Regions from separate parts of the Homo sapiens genome. Here regions 2 and 3 are each linked to region 1. Evidence: promoter capture Hi-C in human tissues and cell types (Jung and others, 2019). All regions are on one chromosome and are shown on one strand. The core of a region is centred on a gene start or on the middle of the fragment in contact, and the rest is flanking DNA. Distances in the headings are between cores, read along the strand shown. Region 1 holds the start of INPP5F (inositol polyphosphate-5-phosphatase F). Region 2 holds the start of SNORA19 (small nucleolar RNA, H/ACA box 19). Region 3 has its middle 100 kb from the start of PLPP4.

Evidence for each region. Contacts are between HindIII fragments. The study calls those that stand out against the background at their distance.
Region 2: a fragment that was not itself captured here is called in contact with the fragment with the promoter of INPP5F in region 1 in 1 of the 25 tissues and cell types used here (IMR-90 fibroblasts).
Region 3: a fragment that was not itself captured here is called in contact with the fragment with the promoter of INPP5F in region 1 in 1 of the 25 tissues and cell types used here (stomach).

What each region holds. Positions count from the first base shown.
Region 1 is chr10:119,724,565-119,727,716 of GRCh38, forward strand. INPP5F (inositol polyphosphate-5-phosphatase F) reads left to right here and starts at 1,486. Exons shown (of 20, transcript NM_014937.4): 1 at 1,486-1,795. The coding sequence starts at 1,699. RefSeq lists an enhancer at 485-534 and a silencer at 1,145-1,914. The HindIII fragment of the contact is 7,792 bases long and covers 1-3,152 here.
Region 2 is chr10:119,059,112-119,062,263 of GRCh38, forward strand. EIF3A (eukaryotic translation initiation factor 3 subunit A) reads right to left here. Exons shown (of 22, transcript NM_003750.4): 8 at 2,113-2,217; 9 at 1,635-1,733; 10 at 491-607; 11 at 101-286. It overlaps SNORA19 (small nucleolar RNA, H/ACA box 19), which reads right to left and starts at 1,027; the gene lies at 900-1,027. It overlaps LOC124900296 (small nucleolar RNA SNORA19), which reads right to left and starts at 2,000; the gene lies at 1,872-2,000. The HindIII fragment of the contact is 6,036 bases long and covers 1-3,152 here.
Region 3 is chr10:120,354,543-120,357,694 of GRCh38, forward strand. It overlaps the pseudogene RPL21P16. Among named protein-coding and RNA genes, the nearest start is that of PLPP4, 100 kb to the right of the region's middle. The HindIII fragment of the contact is 3,748 bases long and covers 1-3,152 here.

The DNA.
Region 1 (3,152 bases), core at 236-2,735:
TTCTTTCTCCAAATCACATCACAAAGATTTGATAGAGTAACCACCTCCCTCGACCTTTATGTTGAGGTGTCTGGACAGCACAGAGGCATGGTACTTAGAAAAGATTCCAGGACGCTTTGTTATCATTGGACTTTCTGTGCTATGGAAATTCAACACTGTGGGCTGGAATAACTAGTCATGTGGAACTCCTTCCTGCTTTTGTACCCTCTCACTTTTACTTGAGCAGAAGGTTAAAAGTATTGCTTTCTGAGAAGTCCCATTCGGTCACTCCTCTCTCTCGCAAGAGAGACAGCTGTTCTCCCTTTTCTTTTGCCTATAAACTTCCGCTCCTAAACTAAAAAAAAAAAAAAAAAAAGTATTGCCTTATTTTTCTCATCTCCTACTTCTTGTCTTTTTCTCTTGTTTCCGATTCAGGCATTAGAGAAGGCAAGGAGTTAGGAGTAGGAAGACTCAATGATTTATAGAACTGGGGGTGTCATAAAAGGTCATTAGTTCAACCACCATCTGAGACCAAGAGACTTCCCCAAGATCACACAGCTAGATAGTCCTCGAACTGGCCCCGGAAGTGGGGGCCTCATTCTCCAGACCCATTCTGTTCAGGATATCAACTGGTTTTTCAAGACAGACTGAGCTCAAGGATGTTTGGGGGAGACTCCTCCTTCCCCGAGAGGGTCTCCATTCATCTTATCCTCGCCAAACGATATTCCTTCCGCTTGCTTCATTAACTGGCTCCATTTGTGAAGTCTTCTCCAAACCGCCCTGCTTAATTCGGGACACAGCAGCACCTGTACATTCCTCCCTTCCTCCTCGCTCTTTAGCCGCGTGCTGCTAATGCTTGTGTGTTTTCTATTGTTACATGCTTTCCCTCGTTGATGTGCATTTATTGAATGCCTCCTGTTGTCAAACTTCTAATAGGGAATACGAAAACAGAAGACGCCTCCGCTTGGCTGTGGGCCTGGCTGGGGATGAACCCCTGTAGCCAGGCCCCGGGGTCTCGCCTGGTTTCGGTACGGGCAGGCAGCGCAGGCCCGCGGGGAACGTACCCCGCACCGCTCCGGGAGAGCGGGTGTGGGGTTGGATTCAGGTCTCGGCCTGGCGAAGCGTGAGCGCCTCCCTGCACGGAGGGGAGGCCCCAGCGGTGGGCGCCTGTCCCCAAGGCCGCGCGGAGGGAGGCGGTCAGTCCAGACCGACTCGGCCGAGCTCCCGAGCTGCCACCGGTGACCACGACAGGAAGGCTGGCGCGCCGGGGGAGGGGCCTGGGCAAGAGCGGGAGGGGCGGGCGGAAGGACGAGAGGGAGGAGGAAAGACCCGCGGGGAGGAGCTGGGAGGAGACACCCGGGAGAAGGCGGAGGAAAGGGCAGGAAGCGGGAGGGAGCTGAAAGGAGGAGGAGGCTGAGGGGCGGAGCCGGGCGCTCGGGGAGAGTAGCCAGCAGAGGGGGTGGAGCCGGGCCTGGGGCGGAGCCAGGGAAGGGGAGGAGCGGGGGGGAGAGGCCTCTACGGCCGCCGCTGCCGCCGCCGCTGCCGGGGCGCGTTCTCCTCCTACCGGTCGGGTGCCCCGGGGCGTTCCCTCTGCCGCTGCTTCTCGGCGCGGTTCCTACCCGGCCGCTCCCCGAGGCGCGGGCTCTGGCGGCCTCGACCGACTAGGACGCCCCGTGCGCCGCCCGCGGGCCGCCGCCTCCCTGGGCGCGCGGGGCCAGCATGGAGCTCTTCCAAGCCAAGGACCACTACATCCTGCAGCAGGGCGAGCGCGCGCTGTGGTGCAGCCGCCGCGACGGCGGCCTCCAGCTCCGACCCGGTGAGGCTGGCGGTGCGGGCGGGGGGCACCCCGGGCCAGGGCGGGGAGAGGAGGGGGCGCGGCCGGACCCCTCAGCCGGGCGGGAGGAGCCGCCTGCGGGCCTGGTGAGGCGGGGCGGGGCGGGCTGCGAGCGCGCGAGCTGTCATTATTCCCTGACTGGAAGGAGCCTGGCCTTTCTCCGAGACAGCGCCGAGCCCCTACCCCAGTGCGGAGCAGAAGGGGCTGGCGACCCTCGTCCTTCCCACCGCGTCACGCGGCCGCCCTTGGGGCTTGGGGCCCAGGCCGAGGGGAGGGGGTCCCCTCCGGCAGAAAGTTCCAGCAAGGTGCACCTGGCCGTAAAGGCCTCTTCCTCCTTGGAGTAGTTCTTACATGGCCTTCGCCAGAAGTTCTGGGTTCGAATTCCGATCTGGAGCGGTTGCGCCAGTTCCGTCTAGGGCTCTGCTGGACACTCACTCCCTGTTGCCATCCCGTGTGTTCTTGGTCCCTTATTATTAAAGGTGTGACTTTACTGTGGTTACCTCATAGGCACTCGGTTTAAAGCCTTTGTCTTTGACTTTAATACCACAGCACAATTAAATTGTATTGTAATGTATAATTTTGAGATTTTTGTGTGACTTGATGTTGTGCGACACAAAATGTATTGTGGGTCCATGTTTGGGTGTCATGTAAGCTGTTCGGAGAGGCTTAAGTCTGCAATTAGCTTGCTTTAGGAAAATGTGTGTGCAGTCGTGGTTTAAACAGAGCAGTCCCTGCCCTCAGAGCGCTGACAGTCCAGTTTCTTGTAAGATGGGGCTGGGTGGCACCTGCCCCTTTTGGCTTGCTAATCCTTTCCTCATATCACTCAGAGATTCTTCCACTTTAGGGAAAGCGAGAGGATAGAGTTCTTTAAGGAAGGAGCCAGAGCTTTTCAGACTTACTTGTAATTCTTATGTGCAGTCTAGACAGAAGGATTACATGATATGAATTGAAAAGGATAAAAGGTTCAGATGAGCTTTTCAGATCACAGCGTGGTATCACTTATAGGATGGTTTTTAAGGACAGGCCCTTTAACATATTATTTCCAATCCCCACAGCAACCTTACAGGACACGTGTGGGATCCTCTTTTTCAGGTGAGGAGAAAGGAGTGAGAGGTTATTAGTAACTCGTTCGGGGTCACAGCCTAGAGTTGAGACACTGACACAGGGCAGTTCTGTGACCTCCAGAACACTTTTGGGCAGGCCCCACTGCTTTCTTAGGAAGGCCTACTAGTTGCTTTGCCAGAGCAGTGAAGGATAACTTATTTTTTTCCTCAGGCTCTGTCTATATTTTCTTGCTATTACGTTGTATTTCCTCTTTTCAGAATGGAGGATAAACTCC
Region 2 (3,152 bases), core at 218-2,717, 670 kb before region 1:
TTCTCTCAGATATTGTCTCAAACCTTTTTGTAAAAGACATGGCATGGCGTTAAGAGTCCCTCAAAACTTCTGGGATTTATTTCCCCGGGAAGATGCATACCAGTATATGAGCTGGTTTAATGACTTCAAGTGCTTTTGCAAGTACTGAGGACATGGCTGTCAGCTGGTTTCTTATCTGCTCTGAAGGCATGCTTTGCAAATGAGGACCAATCGGAGCATCTTCTCGAGTAGCATAATTCAAATCAGATCCAAAACTCAGGGTCCGAGAAGTGTGATCAATACGAACCTTTGAAAATTAAATTATCAATGGTTAAATCCACAAGTAAGCATGAAGTCAAAAAGTAACAGAAGAATGTCATATACAAAAGCTGGAAAAGTTCACTCAGTAAACTTTAAAATGGTATCACTGTACCAAAAGCTGAGAAACAGAAGGTATGTGTCTTTCTAGCCCTCAAGGGCCTTCTCCTGTCTCCTTACAGCACATACCTACCTGCAAGTCGCAATGCCTGGCTGCATCTACTATGGCCCGTTCCAGTTGGAAAGCATCAACAAAAGGAACCAAAGAAGTCAAACGAGAAAACTCAATGCTCTGATAAATCTGTGACACCTGCATAGAAAACAAAGGGTTAATAACACTAGCCACTGTTTATTCAGCACTTTTTATGTGCAATCTCATGACAGTCATGGGAAGTAGAAATTATGCCAGAGAATTTATGTTAGCAGTACATTGTTAAAGCCAGAATGCTAATCCCAGACCATCGACTCTAAACTCCATGCTTTGAGAACCATTATCATACTATTCCTCAAACCTATAATCTTTTCAAATCCTAGTTGTTGTAAAACAAAAAAGCCTAAAAACCTGCTACTTACCGAATATATTTAAACACTTCTTATAGAATTTTTGTCTGAAGGAGACTGGCAGCATTACTATTTATAGTTATACTGCTAATTAGCCTTCAATTATTTGTATAGCACATAAGAAATAACACTACTCACATAAAAGAAAGCAGGTCAATGAAATGTGCACAAATACTGAGATGAAAATATAATAAAACGCCCTCCTTCCCAAATGCAACAAATGGAAAACAAAATGGGAGCACTTACTGACTTAAGCCCCTGGACTAAAATATATGAAAAGGCTGTCTCATTCACTCATGGTGGGGGGTCTATTAATCCAGGCTTCTGAATAGCTATTAAAGCTTTAAATCCATAAACCCTATGACTAATTCCACTTCTTATGCCACAGAAAGTAATAGAAGTATGCAAAGATACATGTATGAAAGATGCTCAATGCTACAAGATTTCTAACAGGGAAAAAAAAAATCTAGGAATACAGGTTTTCATCAAGAGAGTCTGAATAAATACACCACAGTACCTTAAATGGAATAAGGTAGCCCTACATTACTAACAAGGAAAAATGCCCAAAGACAGTGTTCAGCCAAAAAACAAAAGCGTCCGTTACAAAATATGTAAATATAATAATTCTGATTTTCAAATTAATAAATAGACTAATTTTTGCCAGGGGCAGAACTTGGGGAGGTTCTCACTTCCTAGGCAGTTCTAGATTTTTCCAGTTTTTAGTTTCATGATGAGCACATAACATCACAAAACTTTTTTTATTTTTTTATTTTTACCTGCTGCAGAAGGCGGAGGATGGTGTTGTTTTGCAGTTGTGGCACATACTGCTGCAATTCCGGTTCCTTTTCAGGTTGTTCCCTAACCCAATTTAGAACCTATAAAATCCATTAAATTGAAAGAGAATCACACTTTCTACATAAGAGATACTAAAACATCTAAAACTCTTTTTTTTTTAATATACAAAAACATCATCCAATGCAAAGAAATACAAAATGTATCATGAAGCTACTGATACTTGTTTGAAGGTGACTGGCAGCAATGGCTAAATTAGTCATGCTGCTAATTAACCTCCAAAGGTTTGCTGAGCACATCAGATATATCTTTTCTCTTGAAATAAAGAAAAAAGACAATGAAATGTGCACTGAATTCCAACACATAGGACAAAACTTCTCTCTTAACAAATATGAATACAACCCAAAACTGCAAGAAGGCCAACTCTGTGGTAACAACCAGAACTTAAATACAAAGGCTTACCTTTGTGACTCGCTCACAGAGTTTTAATGGGTTAAATTCTACTTCAAGCCAATTGTAAAGGTCTTTCACTTCTGGGACAACATATTGTAGTACATTAAATCTGACCTACAGTAAGCAAAACAAAAGATGTAACTGCCAAAGGAAATTTTCCAACTAAAATTCTGAACTTAGTATAAATGATAGCATTGGAAATCTGGAAAATGATTTAAAAAATCATCAAGCCTCAACCTCCTCTAAATTTACCAAAAATGAATCCAAAGTACAACTATGCTGGGTCTTTTGCCCCACACTATGCACATTAACCTACCGTGAAAAGCCCCACAAGTATGTAAAAAGGAAATGAAACTCTAAAAAACACAACTACAACCAATTAAATATTCACAAAGACAACTACTGTGGCCAATAGAATATTTTATTACCAATAACAAGGAAAATACCAGTTTTACTTTTATATAAATTATCACACAAAAATTATCATGGCAGCACTATTTCTAATAGCCCCAAACTGGGGAGAATTCACATATGGTGTATTCATAAAATAAACAAAAATGCTCAAAAAAGAACAGCTACATAGAACACATGAATAAATCTCACAAACATAGCGGTGAGAAAAGAATTTCACATATTACCCCATTTATATGGACTTCAATTTTACCATGGAATATGTCATTTTTTTTAGGAACTGTTAACCCAAGGACAAAATAACTGCTGGGATAGAGCAAAGCACAGAAGTGTGTACCCATAGAGAGTGGGTGACAAAACTGAGGCAAATATTGGCAGATCGCATCCCCAAGCAAGGAGGGCACCCACACATGGGAGCACTCAGGTCTAAGGTTAACTCTAATGTAAAATGGGTACAAGGCTGAAATCCTACAACATTCTAACACTTCCTCCTTATAAGCATCCATATATCTTTACTGCAATAAGGTGTGGTATATGCATACAAATAAAATTCCCTAACTTAGAATCTGCCTTTAAGAGAAAAAAAAAAATTCCCAGCTCTAATTTCATTCCTATCAAGTTATTTTAGATTCTTCATG
Region 3 (3,152 bases), core at 359-2,858, 630 kb after region 1:
GAATAAAAATAACTCCAAATTATTAAACAAACAAACAAACAAAAATGATCCAATGATCTGGAACATTTTCTTCCCAAGCGAAAAGAGTTGAAAGTTCATTCTTTTTTTTTTTTTTTTTTTGTAGCCCAGAGGTCCTTTATTTTTTTTTTTAACACCTATTATGCCATGAATTCATAGGGAATAGGTTCCAGCAGCTCAGGCTCCTTCCCATTGGTTCTCACAAAGTGTGCTTCTCTGGGTGGAGCAGGCTGGCGCTTTAGTTGAACCCAGGTACCTTTCTCTTTGGCTTCTTTCTTTTTCTGATCATTTTCCTTCACACGTTTCAGGAAGCTATCTCGGCTCTTAGAGTGCTTAATGTGCTCAATACGCACATTAATTCTCTTGGCAAGAATCTTGCCCTTAACTTGTTTGTTTACAACAATGCCAACAGCATGCTGGGTAACATTGTAGACTCTTCCAGTTTTGCCATGGTAACACTTGTGGGGCATTCCTTTTTGAACAGTACCCATTCCCTTGATGTCTACAATATCACCTTTCTTATAGATTCGCATATATGTGGCCAAAGGAACAACTCCATGTTTTCTAAAAGGCCTAGAGAACATATATCGGGTGCCTCTCCTCTTTCCCTTTGTGTTCGTCATTTTGGCGAATTACTGGAAGATGGCGGTTCCGGCCGAAAGGGAAAGTTCATTCTTGAGCTGAGGCAGACAAACCATTTGGCTTTCTTCAAGGCAAATCACAGGTAAACATGGATTTAGATTATGTCTGTTCTAGCAAACTTTTTATTCACATGAAAAGGGCCTACATAAATATCAGTTCAAAGCAGAGAAATATGCTTTGGATAAACCAGGGAAGTTTGTTTCTGCAACAATATCAGTAGGTTGAGTATTAGATAGACCAAAGAAGGTGTCATTCGTCACCTGGAAAGTTGAGAGAGAAAAATCCATTGAAAACTGAAGATGGAAGAGACTGATACTGCTGTTTTGAATTTATGAGAGTCCAGAGGTGAGAGTTATAACCAGGCATTCCCTACTGTAGACATTTGCCAATTTATGCCCTCATGTTGCAATGAATCTTCAGAAGGACTAAGCATGGATGCTATTATTAAAGCTAATTAAATCGCTCTGAATTACAGCTCATCCAGGGTATTAGCTAACAGAATGGTCATCATACTGTCTGGAAGAAATAAATAAAAGGGGATTGGTTGAGTAAGGAATTCCACTGATGGGGTTTTTTGTTATTTTTCATTCAAAAATAAGCTCTCTGGAAATACTAGAAATTAAGACCCACTGTGCTTCATCTCTTAGAAGTGTTGTGTAATAGTGGTCCGACCCATGTTCATTGTTGAGAAGCAGGAACTGATTTTCTTGTCTAGTTTTTTAAAAAATCACATTTGCCAAAGTAATTAAATGAAAGGCTAATTGACAACAAACTTCCTATTGCCCTATAGTCACAACTTACATATGAAATAGCATATTTTGTTTCTCTTTTTGCATTTCAATATGGCAAAACCATTGATGTCTGAGGGACAGGCAGAGAGCAGATTAGTTTCCAGGCTCTAAACAATAACCAGAAAATGGCTTGTAATGAAAATCCAAGTTGAATATCACCATTGTGACAAGAAAAGGGAGATGTAATGAACCCAACAGCATCATCTATAGGAAAAGTAATTTAAAATGTTCACATAAAGTACAGCTAGTTTGGAGTGCAAATGAGCAGGAAAAGGGTTTTTGGAATCCATTTGGATGCATGTGGAGTGCATTTGAAAGTGATGTTGTATCATACTAGATATATATGTGTGTTTGTATATGTGTGTGCACGAATGGATGCCTGAGTCATATATATATGTGTATATATATGCATAGATGTATATATGTATATCTACATATGTAAAGTTACAAGTATATTTGACAAAATGAATGCAGTGGAGGAATGTGATTAATCAAATTATTTTTTATAATCCCTGTAGTTTGAAAAATAATTCACTTGGCTGGATTATGGCATGGAGGAAATCCTTAAAAAGAATCCCAGGGACCTGCTACGTCTCTGTGAGGGTCAGTTTATGTGTCAACTTGCCTAGGACATAGTACCCAATTATTTAACCAAAACAGTAGTTTAGGTGTTGTCATGAAGGTATTTTGTAGATGTAGTTAGCATCTATAAGCAATTGGCTTCAAATAAGGGGATTTCCTTAAGAGCAAAAACTGAGATTTCCCAGAGGGAAAATTCTGTCTCAATACTGCAGCATCAGTTCCTGCCTGAGCTTCTATCCTACTGACCACGTCAATTTCAGACTTGTGAGGCCCCGCAATCAAATGAGCCAATTCCTTAAAATAAATAAATCTCTTTAATTATTATATGCATTTGTATGTGTATACATGTGTATGTCTATTTATATCTATCCTACTGGCTCTATTTCTCTGGAGAGCCTTGACTGATAGTCTCAGATAACCTTCATATACTAGACAGTTCCAGCCTTCCCTGTACATTGCCTGATTTGAGTCTCAACTTTCAATGACCTCACTTGATTTATATTTAAATTATTTCATATTCATTTAAACACAGATATTAAAACGTGGTTGGAATTCTGATGAAAGTTTTCACTGAGGGAAAGTAGCTGAGATAATGGAATGATATTCCGTACCATACTTATTCTTCAGAGATCTGAAGCTGGGATTTCTTTCCTTGAGGTTTATGTTCTTTTTTGTTTGTTTGTTTGAGACAGGGTCTCGTTCTGTCGCCCAGGCTGGAGTGCAGTGGCGCGATCTCGGCTCACTGCAAGCTCCGCCTCCCAGGTTCACGCTATTCTCCTGCCTCAGCCTCCTGAGTAGCTGGGACAACAGGCGCCCGCCAGCACACCTGGCTAATTTTTTGTATTTTTAGTAGAGATGGGGTTTCACCGTGTTAGCCAGGACGGTCTCGAGCTCCTGACCTCGTGATCTGCCCGCCTCGGTCTCCGAAAGTGCTGAGATTACAGGTGTGAGCCACCGCGCCCGGCCCGAGGTTTATGTTCTTATATAGAGACACAGAGCAGACTCAACATAGTAATGCAATTTATTAATAGGTAGCTCTTAGACTTTGGATGCACAATGTTTAAGAGGAATATGATGCTATCAGTTTTCTTTGTTTCTTTCTTTCTTTTAATATTTATT